6 separate regions of the Homo sapiens genome follow, and regions 1, 3, 4, 5 and 6 are each linked to region 2. The links are contacts of gene promoters, found by promoter capture Hi-C in blood cells and fetal thymus (Javierre and others, 2016). All regions are on one chromosome and are shown on one strand. Each heading gives the region's core, a stretch centred on a gene start or on the middle of the fragment in contact. The rest is flanking DNA. Distances are from core to core; before and after follow the strand shown. Region 1 has its middle 50 kb from the start of YTHDC1. Region 2 holds the start of STAP1 (signal transducing adaptor family member 1). Region 3 overlaps YTHDC1 (YTH N6-methyladenosine RNA binding protein C1). Region 4 overlaps YTHDC1 (YTH N6-methyladenosine RNA binding protein C1). Region 5 has its middle 29 kb from the start of YTHDC1. Region 6 has its middle 29 kb from the start of TMPRSS11F.

What was found. The method cuts DNA at HindIII sites, captures the fragments that hold promoters and counts their contacts. A CHiCAGO score of 5 or more calls a contact.
Region 1: a contact is called between a fragment that was not itself captured here and the fragment with the promoter of STAP1 in region 2, in 1 of 17 cell types (neutrophils). The highest score is 5.1, in neutrophils.
Region 3: a contact is called between a fragment that was not itself captured here and the fragment with the promoter of STAP1 in region 2, in 3 of 17 cell types (total B cells, fetal thymus and naive B cells). The highest score is 10.7, in total B cells.
Region 4: a fragment that was not itself captured here is called in contact with the fragment with the promoter of STAP1 in region 2 in 5 of 17 cell types (total B cells, naive CD8 T cells, total CD8 T cells and 2 more); the score reaches 9.2 in total B cells.
Region 5: a fragment that was not itself captured here is called in contact with the fragment with the promoter of STAP1 in region 2 in 2 of 17 cell types (fetal thymus and naive CD8 T cells); the score reaches 6.8 in fetal thymus.
Region 6: a fragment that was not itself captured here is called in contact with the fragment with the promoter of STAP1 in region 2 in 1 of 17 cell types (naive B cells); the score reaches 6.1 in naive B cells.

Annotation. Positions count from the first base shown.
Region 1 is chr4:68,297,762-68,301,898 of GRCh38, forward strand. It overlaps the pseudogene LOC100422188. Among named protein-coding and RNA genes, the nearest start is that of YTHDC1, 50 kb to the right of the region's middle. The HindIII fragment of the contact is 6,217 bases long and covers 1-4,137 here.
Region 2 is chr4:67,557,231-67,561,834 of GRCh38, forward strand. It overlaps STAP1 (signal transducing adaptor family member 1), which reads left to right and starts at 1,497. Exons shown (of 9, transcript NM_012108.4): 1 at 1,497-1,699. The coding sequence starts at 1,580. The HindIII fragment of the contact is 12,125 bases long and covers 1-4,604 here.
Region 3 is chr4:68,319,080-68,323,875 of GRCh38, forward strand. YTHDC1 (YTH N6-methyladenosine RNA binding protein C1) reads right to left here. Exons shown (of 17, transcript NM_001031732.4): 11 at 3,670-3,836; 12 at 1,044-1,126. Among named protein-coding and RNA genes, the nearest start is that of YTHDC1, 29 kb to the right of the region's middle. The HindIII fragment of the contact is 3,740 bases long and covers 190-3,929 here.
Region 4 is chr4:68,336,677-68,340,855 of GRCh38, forward strand. YTHDC1 (YTH N6-methyladenosine RNA binding protein C1) reads right to left here. Exons shown (of 17, transcript NM_001031732.4): 2 at 1,607-1,708; 3 at 896-1,224; 4 at 351-774. Among named protein-coding and RNA genes, the nearest start is that of YTHDC1, 11 kb to the right of the region's middle. The HindIII fragment of the contact is 1,967 bases long and covers 1,824-3,790 here.
Region 5 is chr4:68,376,690-68,380,978 of GRCh38, forward strand. No RefSeq gene overlaps it. Among named protein-coding and RNA genes, the nearest start is that of YTHDC1, 29 kb to the left of the region's middle. The HindIII fragment of the contact is 2,143 bases long and covers 1,723-3,865 here.
Region 6 is chr4:68,156,283-68,160,469 of GRCh38, forward strand. No RefSeq gene overlaps it. Among named protein-coding and RNA genes, the nearest start is that of TMPRSS11F, 29 kb to the left of the region's middle. The HindIII fragment of the contact is 2,848 bases long and covers 1,154-4,001 here.

The DNA.
Region 1 (4,137 bases), core at 1,113-3,612, 740 kb after region 2:
CTTCTTGGCCACATATATTTCTTCTTTTGAGAAGTGTGTGTTCATGTCCTTTGCCCATTTTGTAAGGGAGTTGTTTTTTGTTAATTTGTTTAAGGTCCTTATAGATTCTGGATATTAAACCTTTGTCAGATGCTTAGTTTGCAAATATTTTCTTCCATTCTGTTGGTTGTCTGTTTACTCTGTTGATAGTTTCTTTTGCTGTGCAGAAGCTCTTTAGTTTAATTTGGTCCCATTGTCAATTTTTGTTTTTGTTGCAATTGCTTTTGGAGTCTTTGTCTTGAAGTCTTTCCCAGGGCCTACATCCATAATGGTATTTCCTAGGTTTTCTTCAAGAGTTTTAATTTTAGGTTTTACACTTAAGTCTTTAATCCATCTTGAGTCAATTTTTGTATATGGTGAAAGGTAGGTGTCCAGTTTTAATCTTCTACATATAACTAGCCAGTTATCCCAGCACTGTTTTTGTCAGTGTTGCCAAAACTTAGATAGTTTTAGGTGTGCAGCTTTATTTCTATTTGGGCTTTTTTCGGTTCCAAAGGAACATTAGAATTTTTTTTCTAATTCTGTAAAAAATGTCATTGGTGCTTTGATAGGAATAGCATTGAATCTGTAAATTGCTTTGGGTAATATGACCATTTTAACAATATTATTTTTTCCTATCCATGAGCATAGAATGTTTTTCCATTTGTTTGTGACACATCTAATTGGAAACACATCTTGTTTCCTGAACTGAAACACTTAATATTTTATTAATGACAATACTGCCCCAAATGATATATAAATTCAATGCAATCCTTATAAAAACCACAGCTGACTTCATAGCATAAATTGACAAGATGATCCTAAAATTTATATTAGATATTTAAAGGACCTAAAAATAGCAAAACGCTCTTAAAAAGAACAAAGTTGGGGGACTTGTACTTACTGATTTTGAAGCCAACTGTAAATCTACAGTAATAAAGAAAATGTGGCATAGGCATACAGATAGATGTATAGATTGATCGAATAGGTTTTAGAATCCTGAAATATACCATATGTTAATGGTCAACTGATATTTGACAAGAGTGCCAAAGCAGTTCAATAGGGAAAGAGCCTAGTAAACAAATGTTGTTTGTGTTGACAATTAATAACACGTGTTGTCAAGGATGTGGAGGAATTGGAATCCTCATACATTGCTAATGAGACTGGAAAATGGTATGGCCACTTTGGAAAACAGTCTAGTAATTCTTCGAAAGTTAAACATAAAGCTAATATGTAACCCAGCAATTCCATCTCTAGGTATATACCCAAGAGAAATGAAAACATGTCTACACAAAACTTGTACATGAACATTAATAAATAACATTATTCATGATAGCCAAAAACTGGAAAAAACTCAAATGTCCATTAACTGATGAATAATAAACAAAATGTAGTATATCCATAGTATATAACATTATTTGGAAATAAACATGAATGAAATCTTGATACTTTAACATGAATGAGTCTTTAAAATATTATGAAAAGTGAAAGCCAACCACAAAAGACCACGTATTGTATGATTTCATTAGTATGAAATATCGAGAAAAGGAAAACCCATAGAGAGATAGTACATTAGTGTGTGGTTGCCTAGAACTCTGGATATGCAGAAATTGCATAGGGTGGAGGTTGACAGCTAATGGTAAAGTACTTCTTTTTGGGAGATGAACCTGTTCTAAAATTATTTTCTGATTTTACAAGTCTGTTAATATACAATGAGACATTCAATTGTACACTGATATGGTTTGACTGTGTCCCCACCCAAATCTCACCTTGAGTTGTAATAATCCTCACATTTCAAGGGTGGTGCCAGGTGGAGATAATTGAATCATGTGGGTCGTTTCCTCCAGTTTCCTCCATACTGTTCTTGTGGTAGTGAATAAGAAACATGAGATCTGATGGTTTTATAAATGGGAGTTCCCCTGCACAAGCTCTCTGTCTTGCCTGTCACCACGGTTGTGAGGCCTCCCCAGCCATGTGGAACTGTGAGTCAATTAAACCTCTTTCCTTTGTAAACTACCCAGTCTTGGATATGTCTTTACTAGCAGCATGGGAACAGACTAATATATACACATTAGATTGGTGAATTGCATAGCATGTGAATTATACGTCAAAAAGTCATGACTAAAGTGTTTTTATAAAAATAACTCTAAAAAATGCTGATTCATCCATATAATTATTTTATCTCTAGTTCTGTGTCAAGGAGACTGAAGACAAAAGAGCCTCTCTATTGCCACTACTTTTGGCAGTATACTAAAATACATCACATAAATGCGACGACTTGTTCATGCAAAATCATTGATCTTAGCTAGATGAAAGCACTTAAAAACATAAAAGAGACATTAAATACATTTGTGTAAACACAGGGTCATCTACCTTTTGTTTTTCTATTTGCCATTGACATGTTCAGACTACTTATATAATGTATTTACTTCGAGGTGTAAGAGTTATATTTTAACTTCCGGATTGATTTATCATTGCATAAAAACAAAACGTAAGAATGGCAGAGGGAACAACAATTTAAAAAGAAGCATTGTATTTTATCAAGATGGCTATGAAATGGACTTCAGTCCTTCTGTTGATACAGCTGAGCTATTACTCTAGCTCTGGGAGTTGTGGAAATGTGCCGCTGTGGCCCATGGAATATAGTCCTTGGATGAATATAAAGACAATCCTGGATAAACTTATGCAGATAAGTCATGAGGTGACTGTTCTAACATTGTCAGCTTCCATTCTTGTTGATCCCAACATAACATCTGTTACTAAATTTGAGGTTTATTCTATATCTGTAATTAAAGATGATTTTGCAGGGTTTTTTTTCACACAACAGATTACTAAATGGATACATGATCTTCCAAAACATATATTTTGAACATATTTTTCATTAATGCAAGAATATTCTTTGGGAATATTCTGGTTATACTGAGAAGTTCTTTAAAGATGTAGTTTTGAACAAGAAACTTATGACAAACCTACAAGAATCAAGGTCTGATGTCGTTCATGCAAATGCCATTGGTCCCTTTGGAGAGCTGCTGGCTGAGCTATTAAAAATATCCTTTGTGTACAGTCTCCACTTCTCTCCTGGCTACACATTTGAGAAATACAGTGGAGGATTTCTACTTCCACCTTCCTATGGAGCTGTTATTCTGTCAGAATTAAGTGGTTCGATGACATTCATGGAGACAGTAAGAAATATTATATATGTGTTTTATTTTGACTTTTGGTTCCAAACATTTGATATGAAGAAGTGAGACCAGTTTTACAGTGAAGTTCTAGGTAAGTCATGTTTTTAATTGGTGGTTATTAAGTCCTAACTTTCCCTGTGCCTTTAGAGGTGAGTTTGCATGAGTATAAAATCAGAGGAGTGTGTTTTTTGTAAATGAAATGATGAAGTGAAAATATAAGATGATCAATCAATCTCACAAATACTATGGAAAGCCTGACATTAGTAAGTTAGAACTCTGGGACCATCAATTGTACAGGATGCTCCAGTAAGTCATAATCCTGCAAATTGAACCACTGAGGATTTCTCTAAGCAATTACATATCCATCTTACAATGCTTTTATTTTGTCCTTAAAATAGTCATTAGAAATTTCAATAAATGTCTTGATGAGAGCAGACATGTAGATTACATATACATTTCTACAACTATTTATGTAGCATTAGGACATTGTTTCCCTTATGTAGCTTAGTTTCCTAATTTAAAAAATTAAAACATTTTTCCATATTACTATTACTATGAGGATTTCTTCATATTTGAGTGAATAGTGTCTGTCCCAGATGCAAAAAGCTATATAATTTGAGGTCTCTCAGACTTCCACATTCCTTCAACAACTGCTTACAAGTCATATATTTTAAGGCCTAAAATCTTGTTGAAGAGTGAACATGTAATTATTAGTTTATATTTTTAAAACTATATCTTTCCATTAAAGAAAATATGAATCTAAATAAGGCTGAGCACAAATCACTATTTTAATAATTTGTAAAAATTTTCCAGCTGTTACTTTCAATATCAATATTATTAATAAACTAAAATTATTAGTCACCTATTATGAATCAAATACAGTAGTAGCTACTAGAAACCCCAAAACCTTACAATTCATTTGGAGAATCAAAGATTA
Region 2 (4,604 bases), core at 247-2,746:
CTGTGCTACGCCAAATCCAATCTCTTAAGGACCATTTCCTACATGCAACCATTGAGTGCACTTTGGCCCCAGTATAGCTTTATAAATCTCACTAGATAACTGTGGGAAGTCCATCCATGAATCATAGTATCAATGGTCTGCAGCTCAGAAAGCACAAAAGAACAAAATAAAAGTTTGAAAACTTACAGCTTTCTCTGCCAGATATTTTTTTGCCAAATATCTTAGACTCCTTTGTGTTGCTGTAACAGAATGCCACAGACTGGTAATTTATAATGAACAGAAATGTATTTCGCTCATGGTTCTGGAGTCTGGAAGTCAAAGAACATGGCCAGCATCTGATGAGGACCTTCATGCAGCATCATTCCATGGCAGAAGATAGAAGAGCAAGAGAGGATGATAGCATGTGAGAAAGTGCCAAACTTGATTTTATAAAAAACCCACTTCCAGGCCAGGTGCAATGGCTCACACATGTAATCCCAGCACTTTGGGAGGCCACAGCAGGAGAATCGCTTGAGCCCAAGAGTTTGAGACCAACCTGGGCAACATAGGGAGATACTGTCTATACAAAAAATGAAAAAGTTAGCTAGGAGTGGTGGCGCGTGCCTTGTAGTCCCAGCTACTTAGGAGGCTGATGTGTGAGGATTGTTTGAGCCTGAGAGGTCAAGGCTGCAGTGAGCTGTGATTGCACCAGTGTATTCCAGCCTGGGCAACAGAGCAAGACCCTGCCTCTGAAAAAAGAGAAAGAAACCCACTCCCACAGCATTAATTAATTCATTCATTCATGAGGGCAGAGGCCTCATGACTTAATCACCTTCTAAAAGTCCCATTTCTAAACACTGTTGCATTGGGGATTAAGTTTCTAACACATAAGTTTTGGAGGACACATTCAAAACATAGCACTAAATATTCATTGGGAACTCATGTACTTGGAATATCTACTGGCAAAAAAAAAAAAAAAAGAAAGAAAGAAAAAAGAAAAAAATTCCATATTCCGTGTTCCCATAATTGTGGTTTATATTTAGTGAAGCATCAAATGAGCATGAGATACAACTATTTTTTTTATTTACACAAAACTTGACCCTAAAATATTTAACCAACAGAAGTAGTACTAATAAAATTATTCTATGAAGTAATTTTTAATGAAGCTGAGTTTATTCAAGTCATGTCTTCTGCAAATAAAAATGGACACCAATAAACAAAAACAAAGATAGAAAGAATAACTGTGTTCTTGATATCTCCCCTAAAGTTCACAATCTCTACACCTGTTTCTTTCATCTTCTGGTGATGTTAATCTTCTGTTTATTTTGCGCTTTAAATCTAAGCACATGTGGATTACCCAGAGATTGCCCTCTGAAAGTCAGTCTACACCTGTTCTTTCTTACCTCACAAAAAGTAATGGAAAAAAAAGTGTGTGTGTGTGTGTGTGCGTCTGTGTGTGTGTGTGTCCTGTTGGTGGTAGTGTTGGTGGTTAAAAAGCAATTTGGGACTTCCTCTTTGAACAGTTGCCTTTTCCTCTCACAGAAGGAAGATTTCATTTTGTTTGAGACGAGAAACCAAACCACACACCAAAGAGAGGGGTATGATGGCTAAGAAGCCCCCAAAACCAGCCCCTCGCAGGATCTTCCAGGAAAGGTTAAAGATTACTGCTCTACCTTTGTACTTTGAAGGTTTTTTATTAATCAAGCGGTCAGGATACCGGGTGAGTCTATAGATGATAATGTTAAACCTAAGACTTCTGTTTTAATTTAATATTTATTTCATGGTGATGTGATGTGTTAAGACCTCCTTGTTTCTGTTGAAATTAAATCATCTTCTCTTCTTTGAGCTCAGAAAAATGATTCCAATTTTTCATAATTTAAATACAATGTCTGGCTTAAACCTGTATGTATACACATATATAATATGTATAATAACAGAGGTTGTAATATTAAGGCACTAATATAAAAAAGTCAATAAGCTAAATTTCCAAAGAATTTATTTAAATATCACAAAAGATTTTGGCTTGGGAGATAAAATGTTTCTTGTATTTTCTCCACAATTTATTGCTATGCTTCAATGATGACATGTACCATTAAGATAAAATGATATCATGATTAAAATTAAACCTGCTCCTGTTCTGAGTCATTTGAAGTTTATAATGATCAAATTATTAAAAATGGCTTTTGTAAAAATTGTTAAAATGACAAAGTTCATACTGTTTAACATTATATATAGTTATGTGTTCTAAAATACTATTCAAGATAGTGACTTTTAATTTTTGGGGTACTACTGTGGGTATTAAGTACACTAAGCTACATAAATACCTTTGCTCTAAGAAAATCCATGAAGCATTCTGTATTTTTAAATGTAATAATTAAAACTTATAGTTAGTTAAAATCATTACTTTTAAAACAGTAATTATGGATGACTTGAAATTAATTAGAGAAATAAGCCCAAAATTGCCTGTTATTAAATAAAAAAATCATTAAGTTAGGTCAAATTTTATGAAATTGTATACTGACTAAAACTAGAAAAATTTTAAGGTTTTCAGAAATTCCATCAGAAATGTTTAATGATGCTAAAATATATTTTCTGAGGATTTATGAATACTTGTGGAAAAATTATATATATGAAAAATCTATAATAGCATATTCACATTTCTTACATATATAATCAGATCATTTACTATTTGAGAGTAAAGACATGGTAATTTGTATTCTGTTATGGATGTTAAACATGCATAAATAATTACCTTTCAGTTATATTAGAATTTTTTAGATTGATCCTATATGCTTTTAATGTAAATTCAATCTTGTCACCACAGGTAAGCCACATAGTCACACTTTGCCAGGAAAGGGAAGTTGAGAAAAAAAAATTCTAATTAGTAATTTAAATCAGGTTGTTCATTGAATGTTTTCCAAGGTATTTATAATAACTGTTTATGATAGCAGTTTTTTTTAAATGCTTAAAGAAGACATGTCATTGGTATGGTTAGCAGAAAGAATAAGAATTTTAGAGTGTCCTTTATCTGATGGTTTTGCCACTTATAGCTTGTGATCTTGTGCAAGTTACTCAATCTCCTTGAGACTGTTTCAACTATAAGATAGAGAGTATACTACTTGCTACTTGCCTCCTAAGGTACATTCTAGGATTCAGTAGGTGTTCAATCAATTTATTCACTCAACATTTATTGTGTGCCTCCTATGCACCAAGCATCACTCATTTCTGGAGAATATGGAAAAAAACACAAAGATTTTATTTTCAAGAGGCTTAATATAGTAGGAATGATGTCTTCCTTACCAAATTTCTACTCTTTACCTTCTCTTAGAAAGCATTCTTTGAAGCAGAATGAATACCTATAGGCATAAATATTTCCAATGAAATTAACTTGTGTTTCTATTTGAATTTATAGTAAAGTATCTTTGTGTGTGTGGGTGTGTGTCTGTGTGTGTGTGTGTGTGTGTGACAGTGTCTCCTCTGTTGCCCAAGCTGGAGTGCAATGGTGCAATCACTAGTCATGCAGCCTTGACATCCCCGGCTCCGGTGATTCTCCTGCCTCAGCCTCCTGAGTAGCTGGGACTACAAGCGCATACCACACCCGGCTAACGTTTGTATTGTTTATAGAGACAGGGTTTCATCACGTTGTTCAGGTTGGTCTCAAACTCCTGGGCTCAAGCAACCTGCCCACCTTGGCCTCCCAATGTGCTAGAATTACAGGCATGGGCCTCTGAGTTAGACCACTAAGTACCTTTTACTTGTATGTCAGGGAGAAGAGAGCAAGAGGATGACAATAATACCTACTTATGTGGTGGTTTCAGGGATTAAAGGGATAGCATATGTAAAACACCTGGCTCACACTAAAGGTTAGATTCATTCTCTTACCCTTTCATCACTTATCATACTCTTATTCAGGTACTAAAATTAGTTTGAGGTCTGCAAGTAATATGACTCCAAGGAGAGTGAGCATGGTGATAATTAGAGTACTTGAAAATAGAAGCTATGAGAAAAATCTAAGCAAAATAAGTGGAATTTCCAAGCAATTGGCAGCAAAGTGCCAGGGAATCTTTGAACAGAAGGTGAGCCAAAGGTATATAGCCAAGTAATCTTTGGAGCTGATTGGCTAGAGGAAGGTGAGAGGCTCTGCAGAATGTAAAGTTGGGTCTCTGCCAAAGTCATTCAGAACATTTAAACTAGAAAAAATATAACTGAAGAGTAACCTGGTCTATAAAGGCATGAAATGCTGAGAGGTGCTTCTTAGCTATTTTTTGTGGGGCACTTTTAAGTATTTAAAGAGCTTTTCCCCAGGAAAATGTAACAACGTATACCATTTTGCATGCAATTCTAGAAGGTTTCTAAATCTGAGGTCAAGAACCCATGAAAAACACATAATCTTTATGGAAAAGATAATGTGGGAAGATTTATTTAAGCCACAGCACTAGGATTCTGAATTAACCAGGAAGATGTGTTTATTATCAAAGCTGTTAAATGCCACAGTGGAATACCATTGGCATCGCAGTTCTTACAAATGGGAAAATTTCTCATTTTTTCTGGGACCGTTTGAAAATAAGAGAGAGTGTGGGTGGGCCGGGAGCGGTGGCTCATGCATGTAATCCCAGCACTCTGGG
Region 3 (4,796 bases), core at 810-3,309, 760 kb after region 2:
AGCTTTCAGATAGGTATCTTCTATGTTCACACTCCAAATCTTGCTAATCAGAAAATTTCTTCCTTCTGCTTCACAGGGAAGGTAAGGGCAGAGGAACTATCTTGAGCACACTATGACAGGACTTCCTTAAAACAAATGTTTACTTTCCACCTTGGGTATATGTAGGTCTTACCAAGAAAACCACAGATAAGCTTTTTAAAATGTAAACTTAAGGGGGAGGGGGAAAAAATTGCAAAAGTTGCAAAAATGAAGATGTATACACTGAAAATGAAAAATCGATGGTGGTTAGAAAAATATTCTTTCCCCTGCTTCTTTTAATAAGAACCCAACAAATTAAAATGTAAAAACATTTGAGTAGTCATGTTACTGGGGAAAAACTATTTTCACTTTCTACAACAGGACAACCTATTTTGGAAGAATGAGGCTAATCAAGCCACTTGTTACATAATAGTGCTATAATGATCACTAACATCAATCTCCTAACTGCCTAAGTTTCACAAGTGTATCACTGACTCTCTTCAAATACATGATATCCCTTCTTGAATATAGTTTGCTCTCTTAAATTTCAGTAAGGGATAGATTAATTGAAAAGCTACATTTAGATTACATACCGAGTATTTCCCATTCCTCTCCAAAGACATAAAGATTTTTATTTAAAAAAAGTAGCATTGTATGTATATGTATCACATGAAACACTAACTACCATAGGGAACAAAAAGCCTGATAGAATATAAGGTTATTGCTTTTCATAACTACTTTTAACCTTAAACACATGTGCAGATAAGTTTCCATTTTTGCAAAATTAGCAATTTCAGGTAATTCATAGGGTATGATGAGTTACACTGGAATAGACTAGACAACCTTAACGAAGTTAAGGGAAGAATTACACTAATGAGAACTACTAAAATTTCTCAAGATTTAAGTAGTCAGGTCCTGAATTTTTTTCACTTTTAAAACTGCAGGATTGTGAGGGTTGTTTTTAATTTTTTAATTTTTTTCCAATAATTTGAAATCAAATATCTGCAGGATTATAAAATATTAACCTGGTCTCTGGTGAAACTCAGGGGGATAGTCAATCCTTGGTTTCTTTCTGCTGTTATGAATATCATAATCTTCTGGTCGACGCCTACACAAATTAGACACATTAGAAATTAAACCAAAAACTGCTGGGAGAACAAAGAGTAAAGCAAGAGTTTCTGACAGAGATAAGTACAAAGAATAACCCATTATTTAACATCTTAATTTTTTTAGTGAGCAAATTATTTTAAAATTCCTACATTTTGATTCTCAAATTAATTCCTATAAACCAAACTTTAAATGTACTGCTGGAAGTAGATATTCTCTGCCAACTCATGCTATGATGAGAAAATTGCAGACTAGTCCAATCAAAACATGTAAGTCACATTTTAGTAGTCTAAACAAAAGTAAACAAAGTCATTCTCAAACTAAATATCAGTTTTAACAATTAAAACACTTTCCCAAATAAAGTCTCCATTCAGATGAAAAATAAAAACTAGAAAAACCTATCATCATTGTACAATATGTAACTCTAAAATCTGCATATTTAAAACTTATAAATGTCATTTTAGGTTAAGTCTAAACAAAATTAAGAATTTATTTTTCCTCTGCTTTGCACAAATTATGAATTTTACATGATCATACAGAAAATTTGATACTTATTAAAAGCAACTTTACAGGAAAGTTTTTAAAATCTTAATAGTTAAAAAACTATTTCTTAATAATCCTTAGTAACATTTAGTTTTTCTTTCTACATCTAATGACATTTAAGAATTAAGGGAATTTTTTTTTTCCAGAGACAATGCCTTGTAATAAAATAGGCTTTTATAAATTGGCAAGTAATGGGTCAGAATTTTAACAGAGTTCATAAAACTAATTCAAAATATATTCTTTAGAAGGTGAAACTTTACTGACTACAGAGGGCTGTTCTTTACTGTCTTCCATAAATCGGGTTAACTTAACACATCATTAAATACACTTCAATTTACTTAGCAGCTAATAAAGAGTTAAACAAAAAAAAAGTCCAAAATATTTAGAAAATAAATATATCTTTTTAACCTTAATGTCAAATAAAAACTTGATAACAACCTAGCATTCACTAGTTTTCAGCTATTTGTCTGAGTACCAACTGCTTTCATTAACTTTTTCAACACAGTTCACTCAAACTGCAAAGTTAAGTGCAATAATCCCAAGCCCCCCAACAGAATAAAAACAGTTGCATCTACAATAAATAATACTAAGAAAATTAAAAGCTGGTTTAAAAAATAAACATACCGCTTTCCTGTAGTTTGGGGAGTGCATTTACGACCGGTATAAAACATGATAGTAACAGTTCATATAGTAGTCCAACTACTGACTTTAAGCTGTAAGCCACATACATAAATGGAGGCCCTGGCAGGCTTGAGAGAAGGTGTAGTGGTGTAATAAGTATAGTTTGCAGTCCATTGCAAAACTGAGGTAAAAACTTCACTTGTATATATTGTATTGCACTGGAAACCTCTTAGCTTAAAACTTCAAAAGACATCTTGGTGCTCAGTCCTTTTAGGCCAAAAATAAGGGGCTCTGCCAGGTTTCCTCCTACCTACTCGACAGTGTCCTTTTTAAGCTCAAAGAAATGGGGACTCTTGTTGGATTATCTGTACCTACCACAGGATGTCTCCACCAAAAGGAAATTTAATCAAAGGTTTCATCCCATCAACCATACATCCAATAGTCTTTAGCAGAATATTTTAGATTTAGCTGTATGCAAATCTACACAGGGGAAGGTGTTGGGTAGAAGGGCTTAAATCAGTCCTTTGCAAAGACTTCTCCAATTCTGTAACAAGTTAAACCCCCTTTTTCTGGAAAATGCTGTTTAGTTCATAAAGTAGTGATCAATAACCATGGCGATCCTCTAAAAAACACTTTTAAGTCCACAGGTACTGCCAGCATCTGGAAAAGTTGTAAACAGACACAGCAACAGCCCTTCTTTTTGGTTTGTTGCCGGGTCTCCCAGGGCCACTTGATCCCCTTTGGAAAGAACCTATTGTTTTCAGAAGCTCAGCAAGATGTGTGAATTCACTGGGTACATGTTAGAGAATATTTGGCAATAGGGTTAACACATCACGGTGATAAAATCTGAAACAGTCCCAATAATGCTCCTCTTGAATATCAAAATAACTTAAAATATTTTATCCTCTAAATGAGGCGTCATCTTCTGAAAAAATATTAGTGATCCTTTATAAAAGTCCCATATCTGATAAGGCTTATCCAGAGACATACCTGAAAGAAAAGGCTTTTTAAAAAGTATTAACAATTTTTGCAAATAAAGACTTCCTCCTCTTCCTCCTTTCTAGCCTGTTCTTAGCAACAAATGCCTACCTCATTTCAATTGTATACATTGTATTATCAGAGTATTATCTAATCTAAACTGGTTATCACTGGTTATACTTTTTTCTGCATAAGGAAAGATCCCCATTTTCCTCTTGAAAAATGACTGAGACCAAGGTGACCATGTGAAATCCTCAATGAAGCCACAAACTAGTCCATGCAGCTTGATTTGAGGATTTTCTCTTTCTTCTTTACCGCAGGACAAACTTTTGACGAATCATATTCCTCCATCATGTTATTCTGATACATGTGCCTATTATCAGTCCAAAGAACGTTTCTAACCTTCCCACATCCCGGACTGGTTCTCGACGGGATGGACGTCCTCGTGATCGGGGCTGAGAATGCATTCTTCTCTTGTGACGCATTTTATGAATGACCTGATACAAGTCAATACTTTCATCGGGGGGAAACAGAAGACAAAGCTGGGTTCCACATTCAAGTTCAATTTCCTAGAATAGGAAAGTAGCAATTTATAAAACAAAAACAGACCCTTTCAACAGACTTGCATTTTCCTGATGTACCAGAACAAAAACTGACTTGGAAGCTTTCTTCCCAAGGCTGATGATCATATGGGATTCCAATAAGACTTCCAGATTTATAAAACATTTAAAAAGTGTTTTGTGTATTTATATAAAGGGTAAAAACTAAAAGTGTAGAATCTCTGAAGTTAAATACACAAATGCAGTTGCTTAAAATTCTGTGACAACCACCCTCTGAAAAGGGACTATTTCTTTGTGCAAAATAGAAAAATATCAGGACAAGGTCATTTAATACAATGGAAAAAAAAAATTCATGTTAGTGTGTGTACCAACAACTTTGATAATTATGATCTACTAAGTGTATTGAAATACATTAGATTTACCACAAAGGCAGACCAATCTATGGGCTCTTTAAAATTAAATCATTTTCAGCTATTTGTAATTGAAAAAGTGAAAACATTTTTACTCATGAGCAATAAAATGTCATATTACTTTTGCATGGCCAGGCATAGTGGCTCATGCCTGTAATTCCAGCACTTTGGGAGCCCCAGGCAGGCGGATCGCTTGAGGCCAGGAGTTTGAGACCAGCCTCGCAAAATGGTGAAACCCTGTCTCGACCGAAAATACAAAAATTAGCCACTCTCGTAACCTGGTTTCCAAAAAAATTAAAATTAAAAAATAAAATAAAACAAAACTTCTGGTTCAGAATTACATGTGAGAATTACAAGGGTCAAAGAAAGGTTTTGGTTAATTTTCAATTACTCCACATTTTCAGTTCCATTTGTAGACTTGAAAACCTGAGTACATATATTTAATCTTTTCAGAAAGCTGCTTTCTACTCAGAAAACTAGCACATATACTAAACGGCAATTCTAAAATGTATTACAGAAACTGAAGAATCTGTTAAACAGTGATAATATAGTCAAAACA
Region 4 (4,179 bases), core at 1,557-4,056, 780 kb after region 2:
TTTCCTATGAATATACTTCAAGTACATCAGTGTTTAAATAAACTGCTGACTGGTATGAAAATCTAAGAATTTACAGAAATCTGAAATACATTTCCTTATACAGAATCAAATGGACTTGTGTTCATTTACAACACAACCATTCTGTAGCTAGGAAATGCCTTTCCTAAAATATGTAAATCTTATCCAAGATTATTCAAATGTATTTATAACATTCAAAAGCATATAAAGGATCACAAGACAATCCTATTAATATCCCCCATCTCCTCAACAATTTTATAATTTAAACATTTTCAAGACTGAAACCTATCAAGCTTTTTTTAAGACAAACTTTTACATATAAAAAGTAGTACCTGATCCATCTGTGCCTGAACCAGATCTGACAGACCCATCTGTGAAGGAAACAGATTCAGAACCAGAGTCACTGGCCTCACTTCGAGTGTCATAATCATTTCCCTCCTCTTTCTGGTCTCTCTCATCCTGTTCATATTCTTCTTCTTCCTCCTCCTCCTCCTCCTCTTCCTCCTCCTCCTCTTCCTCCTCCTCCTCTCCATCTTCATCCACCTCTTCATCTTCTTCTGCATCTTCTTCTACTTCTTCATCTTCCTCCACATCTTCTTCCACTCCTTCCTCCTCATTCTCAGTGTTGTTCCCTTGCTCATCAGAAGAACCACTGCTGCCAGTCTCATGGTCAGAGCCATATTCTTCAGAGTTCACTTCTTCCTTAGAAGACTGGCTGGATCTGCTTGCACGTCTATCCACTTCAAGCCCAATTCTCTGATGTTTAAAGAAAAAGGGAATCAGCAGTCATATAAAAGACAAGGTCAGGGTGAATAAACAGTTCTAAAGCCTCAAAAAGAATGGCTTTCTGTTTTATATCTGCAATAATATTTACTACCTCAGAACCATCTGGCGTAGGAGATTTGGCCCTCCTTTCAGGATCCCTTTTCCGGACACAGGTTTTTTCAGGTTGATTCTTATAAGGTTCTCTGGAGGCACTACTTGATAGACGAATTTTCCGATCAGCATCTAGACGCTTGTTTCTTTCAGATCTTTGATATTCCTCATTTTTATACTCTGTGGCTGACTTTCCTTTTGTACTAACTATTCTTTTGTTATTGCTAACAGATGAGCTCAGTGGCTTAGAAACCAGTTGTCTAGAATGGACAGAAGGCTTTTGTCGTTTGGTATCAGTAGATTCCATTCGATCACTTTTTCTTTTTGATCCTTTAAAATACAATGTAAAAAAAAAAAAAAGAAGTATTTGTAGTATTCCATTTATTTCACCAAAGACTGACAATAATATATACATCAGGAAGGGGGGATAGGCCTCATTTCTTTAAAAGTCTTCTGAGAGATTTCTTCTCCAGAGTTAATCTAAAAGAAAACATAGCTTTCAACTATGGGAATAAAACCATATATTTGAGAAGTTTCATATATTAGAAAAAAACAGATTATCCCTATTCATATGGATACCAGTTTATTATGTACATTTAGTGTTAACTGCCTCAAGGAACAAGCACAAAAAAGCACAGTCATTTTTTTTAAGAAATTGAATCTCCTCTATTTATACTGTTATTTCAACAAAAATAATAGAACTCTTACATACCCTTTTTCTCATTTTTATCTTGTTCACTCTCTGGATTATACAGTTCATCATCTTGTTCTGGTACTTCAGTTAAAATATCATCCAGAACATTAAGTTCTCCATCTGCAAATAAAATTAAAAATTAATAGGGAAAAATCACTATCATTGAACATGTATTTTTGAGTACTTACTAAGTGTGAGGCCACAAGCGCCTAGGAGCTTTTACTTTTATATAAAAAGCTTTACTTTTATTTCAGAATCAAGACACAAGATTAATTTCTATAAAACTAATACAGGGTAAAGAATTGGCCAGTCGTGGTGGCTCATGCCTGCAATCCCAGCACTTTGGGAGGCTGAGGCAGGCCAATCACGTGACGCCAGGAGTTTGAGACCAGCCTGGCCAACATGGCAAAACCCTGCTCTGCTAAAAATACAAAAATTAGCAGGGCATGGTGGCACATGCCTTTAACCCCAGCTACTCAGAAGGCTCAGGGACAAGAATCACTTGAACCTGGGAAGCAGAGGTTGCAGTAAGCCAAGATTGTGCCACTGCATTCCAGCCTGGGCGATAAGAGTGAGTTTCTCAAAATACACACACACACACAAACAGAAGTCTGGGCTATCTGGTCTACAAAGCCAGGAGTATACATCTCAGAAGGCATGAAAAGATATACTGAGGCATAAAAAGAAAATGCAAGAATGTCTCTATTTTTACCTCATTCTTTAATTTCTAATATTTCTGAGGGCTTTAAAATGTGTACAATAAATTAGTATACAAATACGTATGTACAACTTATAAATACACATTTACCAAAAATGTGCACTCTCCACAATTACAAAGGGAAAACGACTTTACAGTGGAGAAATGTTTCACAGGCCAAATTAACCAGATAATCAAAGTTAACATCACCAGTAATGAGACAAATCAACATCATGGACCTCCTGTAACAATGCTCTGAGAATAGAACAATGCTTTTGTAATGTTCTATGCAAAATGGAAAAGCTGAACCTACATGAGGAAAAAAATCAGACAAACCCAAATTAAAGGGCATCCAAATATGTCACTGTCATGAAACAAAGAGTAAGAACTATTTCATATCAAAGCAGACCTAGAGAGGCATGATAACTGAACACAGCCCACAATATTGGACATAATTGGAAAAACTGGTGAAATCTGAATAAAGTTTGTAAATCAGAGTAAGTAGCAATGTTATTTTTCTAATTTTGACTGTACTATGGTTAAGTCAAAGTCCTTATAACACATATTTAAGTATTTAGGGACAAAGATATATTATGTCTACAACTTACAAATGGTTCAGGAAAAAAGTGTGCACACATGCACGTACACACACAGACACACAGAATGAGACAAATGTGACAAAATGCTAACATCTGCAGAATGTGTTTGGAGAGTAAAAGAAAATTCTTCACACTGCACTTGTAGCTATTATGCTTATCTGAAATTATGTCAAACTGCAAGTTAAATGAAAAAATTATCAATGTGCTATATAATAAAAAAAACATTTAGAGCCTGCTGGTGTGGACTGTAAAAGCACAAAACTTGTTCAGAGAAGGGAACTATGACTTTATTCAATGATCATGAAAGCATAAAACTCAGTTTTGTCCCCACTTCTACCTTGTCCAACAAGATAAACCTTAGAAATACACACAAATACCATTTTAAATTTTAAAATGTACTAATGCTAATAGTAAATGTTTAAACATTAACTATTCCAATATCAAAAACATCTTTCCAAATTTAAGGTGTGCCAAAGAGGAAGTATAAAGCCATGAAAACTGATGAGACAGAACAATTACATTTGTGGCTTCAGGAAAAAAACAAAGCCCACATGAATTACAGAAAGGTCTATTAATTAACCTGGGGGCTATAAACAGGTTAAATGGGATTCAAATTTTCCCCAAAGTGGGAAAGAAATCTGTGACTGAAGAGAATAGTTAATACAAACGATAAGGTTACATAGGAAATGGAAAAGATATCATTTTCCTTTACATTTGGAAACAGACACAATCTAAAGATATCTGAAAATTACTATGTCTGGAATAGCAAAATTGATCATTTTGGGTGGTACCAATGCTGATATGTACTTTCTATCATTTTTCTAAAATGAAAACAGGCTATATGGGTTTTTATTTTTGTTTACTTTTAAAAAATCTTATTTAAAATCAAGATATGTCAAACAAAAAAGCTTCTCTCATCATCTAGATTCATGTTTTTGCTAAGAAAAATTTCTTCAAGATCTGAATGGTGGCAAACACCATTTTCGGACTCTAAATTATAAAAAAAATAGTCTGATAGAAGTAAATCAATGTTTTACAGATGTTTAATAAGTACTGGGTCAAAGCTCACTAATCAGTAAAAAAGTAGATCCAACAGGTCTTCACAGAATCAAATACATTTGTAGAAGACAAAAAGAAAAAATTTCAAGACTATCACAATGAAACAGGCAAATAATGCTATACAAATCTTTTCATAAAATCACTAGATCTTATTCAGAAATATCATCCCCGAACCCTGAACATTTATATTATATACTTTAGACATGCTAAATTTAATACAGAATGAAATAATTTTG
Region 5 (4,289 bases), core at 1,544-4,043, 820 kb after region 2:
AAACTTTACCACTGTTTTATTAAATTTTAATATAAATAAACTATGTAAAATAATTCATGATTGTAGCAGGTTATCTAATTTGGAAATAAAAAGAATACTCTTGCTGGATGGTAAACAGACTATTCCTAGCATGAGGTCTTTTCTTGGAATTATTTTATCTTAGTCCTTACCTAGAAGGACTTAGGAAGTGACAAACAGTGCTAAAAACCTGAGAGAAAAGTTAAGACATAGTGACAGAATTTTGCAGGACAAAAGAGTGATATTAGTACAGTCTTTCTTATGTTAAACCTTTTATGATCTTGAAAATCTTATCTTTAAATCTTAAGAAGCTGTTGGATTATACTTTAATCATTGCAGGGAAAAGATTTAGAAATTATGTTGTCAACCAGTTTAGATCAAATTGACATCAGAATTGGGTCTTTAGGAGGAGATTTTTGGTACAATAACTTTGTAATCTGAGGATACTAATCAGGGTATAATAGTACACTTAATTAGTATGATTAGCTGATAGTCTCAAGTTAGGACGACAGTCATTGAGCCCATATCAGGTAGTTAACAGTGAGCATCTATCTGTTCTAATATGTTCAGCATTCTGTTAGGATTAGTTGGTGTCCATGCTGTCCTTGTTATTAAATCATCTGAATATCATCCAAGACCATAAGGGACTGTATGTTCACAGGAAAAAAATAACAAAATCACAAAATGTGAAGAATGTATGTATTATGAAAAGAAGGTAGGCAAACAGATATCTTTAAAAGAGGAAGCTAAAAAAATAAAAATAAAAGAGGAAGCCAAATGAATGGATCAGATAGAAAAAAATGTTCAAAAGTGTAATAATTGTTTTAAAAGGACTAAAAATATTTTTAGAGACCCAAAGGAGGAAATTAGAAACATGAATCAGAAAAATCAGTTATGAAGGACCAACTGGAGATATTCAGTATGAAAAACCTAATAACTGAAATAACTCAGTAAGTATGGTATTAGATAAACCTTATAGATGTTTTTTAGATACTGCTTTTCAGAGTGAACACACTTGAAATACAAATTAGTGAGCTGAAAGATCAGGTCAATCAACTCTTCTAGAAGGACTCAGGAAGGACAAAGCAGTGCTAAAAAACTGAGAGAAAAGGTAAGATACAGTGACAGAATTTTGCAGGACGAAAGAGTGATATTAGTACAGTCTTTCTTCAGTATCTTCAAGGATTGGTTCAAGGACCCACTGCCTTCATAGTAAAATCCAGGAATGCTCAATTCCCTTATATAAAATGGCCTGTTTGCTCATAATCTACATACATCCTCCTGTATACATTCAATTATCTCTATATTACATATGATACCTAATACAATAGGAATGCTATGTAAATAGTTGTTATGCTGCTTTGGTTTTTATTTGTATTTTTTTAATTGTTAATTTGGTTTTTTCTTGAATATTTTCGGTCCCAGGTTGTTTGAATCTGTAAATGCAGAACCTGAAGATACATAGGGCTGAGTGTATTTGATAGAAAGAGGACAGAGAAATTGTTGAAATAAGAGAAATTTGAAGCTAGGATGCTATATCCAATTAATTCAATGTAAGGCTGAAATAAGTTATTGTAAGGTACACAAGGCCTCAGAAGGCTGACAAAAATTCTGTTTGAAAACACTTTGGGAGGATGTGCTCAAGTAAGACAAGGAATCAATCCAGAAGTTAACCAAGAGATGTGAAAAGTGTGGAACAAGTGAAGCTTTGTAACGTGTTTAGATGAAAAACTGCCAGAGGCATCTTTAATATAAACAGCTTCAGGAAGAGAGACACACTGTATTGCTTTCTTTATCCCAGAGATTTTGGAGCGTATACATAGGTGTCATGCATGTCGTATGTATATGTGCGTATTTGTTGGAGGAACAAAGCCCAACCCCCACCCCCGACAAAATCCCATGAGTTTATTTACACATTGTACATGAGAATTTGCGCTATTTCCTATCTTCAGACGTGATATTTAAAATATATAACAATTAGTACAACATAGGGCACTGACCAATCAGAACAGACACCAGCCAAACTGCTAGAGCAGCTTCCTGGATGCTGTGCCCTTCATGTCCGGATTATGAGTACACCTCTGGTGGGCTGGGGCAGAGGCATGGGGCAGGGTCTCAAAGTGGCTTCTATTTACCATGTATATAGGATTGTTTCAATATTTTAACAACTTGTATGGTCATGTATACTGACTGAATAGCAACTCTGCTATGAGACATAAGACATGTTTGATGACTTCATGCAATTTTCTGAAACATGCTCTTTTTTTTTTTAAAATAAACCTTGGGCAGATGTTATGTTAAGACAGTCTCTGTAGTAAAATAATTTGCCATATTGGAGAGGCTTATCATCTTTACAATGAAAGTCAGAAAATATAAGTAAAACATATTAAGTTGTACTAAAGCAGAGAGAATAATCAAATATAATCTTACTCAAGATATTTTCATGACAACTCAGCTTGCAAGATGTTTTCCTAGGCTTACTGGGTCATAAATATTCGGTATCATTTTTTTTCCTATATTTTAAAGAAAAGGAATTTGGAACATGTAAACTATAAATCTAAGTTTTAAAAAATCTAAACAACAGTTTCCTCTCATTGCAGACCTCATTCAAATTGCAGGCTGGAGCCATGCCCAATATGCCTCTTCAGAGCCACAACTACCCACAGGTAGGTGGGCACTTGGTGAGTGAGGATAAAAAGTTTGTTGTTATAAGTCATTGAGTTGTGCAGTTGTTTGTTACACAGCAAATGACATTCCTTTTTTACTTATTCATCATTCATTCAACGTATTCTAAACATATAACTATGAACTATAAAAACTCAAAACTGGCTTTTCTTTTAAAAGATTGACTAGACAAATTTATGTTAAAACTAATCAGGAAAGGAATGGAGATGCAAATAAACAACAGCACCTATGAAGTTTGCATTCTACTATTGAAACAGAAAATACACAAATAAACTGGGAATCCCAAATGGTTCATAAGCAAACGAAGAGTGACTTACCCTTACTCTGTAATCAGAGAACTGCAAATTAAAACAATTGGAAAGTCTGACAATATCATGCAGTGATGAGGATGTTGGGAAATAAGAGACCTCCCATTCAACTTAAGGGAAAGTAAGCTGTTGCAACCATTCCAGGGAGCAACCTGAAAGTACTTGGTAAATTAACTATCTTTATACTTTCTCAATGATGTAGCAATTACACTTCTAGGTCTCTTGCACATGTCCCTAGGAATATTTTTCACAGCAATGTTTGTGGTAGTAAGAATGGAGAAAGTCTAGATGTCCATTGACAGAGGAATGGGAAATAAAATAAGGGATAGACACATAATAAAGTTATATTCAGCACTCAGAAATAATGTTCTAGATTAATATTTATCTGGATGGCTCTTAAAATATCATGACAAATTGGGGAATAAACAATATGAGATTTATAAAAGAATAACTTTCAAGGATATTACATGCATATGCCCAGAAACACCAAATTCATCTTTAAAGATACACATATATCTAAATGAATATAGCAATGATATACTGGTAGGGTATAAATTAAATATGTAAGGGTGGGGTGAGGTGAGAATGGTGGATGCATGGGAAAAAGGTAGTAAAAAGTAGAAAGGTAAAATTTAAAAAGGGGTATTGCACAGACGCTGAAAATGTGCAATGAAATGAAGGGTGTGATTAATTCAATTTTGTGACTTGATAGTCTAAAAATAACTATATGTAGTAGAATCTGAAATATGAGGAATAGGGAACTTTAAGGGAGTATATGGAAGTCAACGCCGTCTAAGCATGTGCACACTGAATTCTCACACTTTCGATGATGTCCTGCTATTATATCTTTTCTAAGCTTAGAGGAAGATAAATACCACAGTAGTTATATTTTAATTCTAGTTTTATTTAGGTAAATGATAATAATGAGATAAGCCACAAAGTTCGAATTGACATATCTATTAGTATTAGTATACATAAATGTAGAAAATATATTTCAAAAGAAAAAAGAACGTACTATGATCATCAAAAACCTCACCTTTCCACATGATACATATTGTTGATATTTTGATATTTTTCCACCATGGAATTTATTTTGCAATTACCTTGTTAATCAGTATAATGTATAATGTGAGGATTAAATTGCATCTATGGATCTTGATGTGTTATCTTTAGAACTTATTTAGATTGAAGCTTTCATTTTATCTTTTTCAAACTACTATATTAATGATCTTGAATGAAGATTATTATAGGAGTTCAGTGCCTCGCAAAATTTTCTTG
Region 6 (4,187 bases), core at 1,328-3,827, 600 kb after region 2:
TGTTGAGTTGTTTAAGAGATTCTGAATATTAGACCTTTGTCAGATGCATAGTTTGCAAATATATTCTCCCATTCCATAGGTTGTCTCTTCATTTGGTTGATGATTTATTTTGCCGTGCAGACACTCTTTAGTTTAATTAGGTCTCACTTGTCAATTTTTGTTTTTATTGCAATTGCATTTGAGGACTTAGTCATAAATTTTTTGCTAAGGCCAATGTCAAAAATGGTATATCTTAAGTTTTCTTCTAGAATTTTTATTGCTTTACATCTTACATTTAAGTCTTTAAAGCATCTTGAAAAGATTTTTGTATATGGTGAAAAGAAGGGGTCCAGTTTCAATATTCTGCATACAATTAGCCAGTTATCCCAGCACCATTTATCAAACAAAGAGTCCTTTCCCCACTGTTTGTTATTGTTAACTTTATTGAGTATCAGGTGGTTCTAGGTGTTTGGCTTATGTCTAGGTTGTCTATCCTGTTCCCCTGGTCTATTTGTCTGTTTTTGTACCAGAACAAATGCTGTTTTGGTTACTGTAGTATTACAGTATACTTTAAAGTCCGGTAGTGTGATGCCTCCAGTTTTGTTCTTTTTGCTTAGTATTGCTTTGGCGATTTGGGCACTTTTTTGGTTCCATATAAATTTTAGAATCATTTTTTTCTAATTGTGTGAGGAATGTCATTGGTTGGTTGATTGTGATATGGCCCCAATGACTGGAGGAACACCAGGGTCCTTTATCTCGTGCTGGTTTGAATAAAACAATACAGACACACGTGGAGTGGTTTTAAGGGGCATATAATAGGCAAGAAAGAAGGAAGAGGCTCCCAGGTACAGAGACAGAGGGAGGGGGCCTCCAACCCAAAAGAGGAAACCCCAAGTCTGGCTGAAAACAGCCAGTTATATGAGAAGGCAATGTCTGATTTGCATAGGACCCAGGGGATTGGTTTGACCAGGTATGTCATTCAAGTAGCCCGCAAAAAAAACTGGCCCCCTACCCTGGCCTTTTAGTATGCAAGTGCAGGTGCCATGATGTTCTACATAAGTGGGCATATGTGGGGGCGGCCATGTTGCCAGGCACATGTGGGGACCTGAAGAATTGGTGGGAATCGCCATGTTTGGGTGGACCCAGTTTCTAACAGCTGGCATTTGCATATGGAAGCTTGCTGGCCCAGCCAGGGCTTTTCTGCTATATAAGAAAAGTTTCTGGAACTGCTTTAAAAAAAACAAAACAAAACAAAAAAACTTCCCAAGGACTCCTTTTCCTATCTTCCTAAAATAATTTCTTAATAACTCCTATAACAACTGGAATAACATTAAATCTGTAAATTGCTTTGAGCAGTATGGCCATTTTAACAATATTGATTCCTCCTATCCATGAGCATGGAATGTTTTTTATTGTTTGTGTTGTCTCTGACTTTTTTCAGCCATGTTTTGTAATTCCCATTGCAGAGATCCTTTACCTCCTTGATAAGCTGTATTCTTTGGTATTTTACACTTTTTGTGGCCATTGTAAATGAAATTACATTTGTGATTTGGCTCTGAGCTTGGATGTTATTGGTGTATAGAAATGCCAACTTTTCTATGTTGATTTTGTATCCTGAAACTTTACTGAAGTCATTTTTCACTTCTAGAAGCCTTCTGGCAGAGACTATAGGATTTTCTAGGTACAGAATCATACTTTCTGCAAACAATAGATAGTTTGACTTCCTATTTGGATGCCTTTTATTTCCTTCTCTTCCCTAATTGCTCTGCATAGGACTTTCAGTACTATGTTGAATAGGAATGGCAAGAGTGAATTTACCTGTCTTATTCAAATTCTCAAGAGAAATGCTTCCAGTTCTTGCCCATTCAATATGATGTTGGCTGTTGGTTTGTCATAGATGGCTCTTACTTTGAAGTACCTTTGATGCCTAATTTGTTGAGGATTTTTAACAGGAAGGGATATTGAATTTTGTCAGAGACTTTTTCTGTGTCTATTGGATGATCATGTCATTTTATTGTTAATTCTGTTTATGTAGTGAATGACATTTATTGATTTGCTTATGTTTAACCAACCTTGCATCCCAGAAATAAAGCCCATCTCAATATAGTGAATTAACTTTTTTATGTGTTGCTGGATTCAGTTTGCTGGTATTTTGTTGATGATTTTTGCTGCTATGTTCTCAGAGATATTGGTCTAAAGTTATCATTTTTCACTGTATCTCTGCCAGGCTTTGGTGTCAGAATAATACTGACTTTGTAGAATGAGTTAGGGAGGAGTCCCTCCTCCTAGATTTTTGAAATAATTTCAGTAGGAATGAGACCAGTTCTTTATACATCTGGTAGAATTTGGCTATAAATCCATCTGGTCCAGGACTTTTTTTAGTTGGTAGGCTTTTTATTACCAAGTCCATTTCAGAATTTGTTACTGGTGTGCTCAAGATTTTAATTTCTTCCTGGTTCAGTCTTCAGAGGCTTGTGTTTCTAGGAATGTATCCATTTCTTCTAGGTTTTCTAGTTTGTGTGCACAGAGGTGTTCACCATAGTCTCTCAGGATTTTTTGTATTTCTGCGGAGTTGGTTGTCATATCACCTTTGTCATTTCTAATTGTGTTTATTTGGATCTTCTTTTTTTTTTTTTTTACTAGTATAGCTAGCAGTATATCAATCTTGTTTAATCTTTCGAACAACAAACTTTTGGCTTCATTTGTCTTTTGTATGGATTTTTGCATCCCAGTTTCATTCCATTCAGCTCTGATTTCAGTTATTTCTTTTCTTCTGATTGCTTTGGGGTTGGTTTGCTCTTGTTTTTCTAGTTCCTCTAGGTGTGACATTAGAATGTTAATTTGAGATTTTACTAACTTGTTGATGTAGGCATTCAGCACTATAAACTTTCATCTTAAAACTGCTTTATCTGTGTGATTTTGGTATATTGTGTCTCTGTTTTCATTAGGTTCAAATAATTTTTTTTATTTCTGCCCAAATTTCATTCTTTACTCTAAAGTCATTTAAGAGCACATTGTTTAACTTCCATTCCATTGTATGGCTTTGATAGATCTTCTTGGCATAATTTCTAATTTTTTGCCCTACAATGAGAGTGTGGTAGGTATGATTTCTATTTATGTTTAATTTGTTGAGATGAGCTTTATGGCCAAGCATGTAGTTGATCTTAGACTATGTGCCATGTGCAGATGAGAAAAATGCATATTCTGTTATCACTGGGTGGAGTATTCCTTAGATATTTATGAGGTCTAATCGGTCAAGTGTCAAGTTTAAGACCATGATATCTGCTAGTTCTCAGCCTCAGTGATTAATCTAATCACTAGCAGAGGAGAGTTGAAGGCCCCCAGTATTATTATGTGGTTGTCTAAATCTCTTCATAGATATCTAAAAACTTGCTTTATGAATCCACATGCTCCAATGTTGGGTATATACATATTTAAAATAGTTAAGTCTTCTTGCTATATTCAGCCATTATCATCATGTAACACCCTTTTTTGTCCGTTTTGATCATTGTTAGTTTAAAGTCTCTTTGAACTGATACAAGCATAACTACTTCTGCTGTTTTTAGTTTTCCATTTGCCTGAATAGATCTTTCTCCAGCTCTTTGTTTTGAGCTTATGGATGTCATTACTCTTAAGATGGCTCTATTGAAGTCAGTTGGGTCTTAATTCTTAATCTCACTTCCCACTCTATGCCTTTTAAGTGGGGCACTTAGCCTATTTACATTCAGGGTCAATATTTCATTGTACTATTAGCTGATTGTTATGTAGATTTGGTTGTATAGCTGCTTTATAATGTCTATGGGGTATGTGCTTAAGTGTGTTTTTGTGGTGGCAGGTATCATTCTTGAATTTCCATGTTTAGTGCTCCCTATAGGCACTTTTGTAAGACGGACCTTACGTATCTGGTAAGAAATTCACTAAGCCTTTGTCTGAAAAGGATTTCATTTCTCCTTCGCTTCTGAAGTTTAGTTCAGCAGGGTATGAAATTCTTAGTTGGAATTTCTTTTATTAAAGGATAATAAAGCTTGGCCCCCAATCTCTTCTGGCTTGTATGGTTTCTGCTGAAAGGTCTACTGTTAAGTCCAATAACATTCCCTTTTCAAGTGACCTACTCCTTCTCTCTAGCTGCCTTTAATATTTTTTTCTTTCATGTTGACCTTGAAGAATATAATGACTGTGTGTCATGGGGATGTTCATCTTGCATTAGT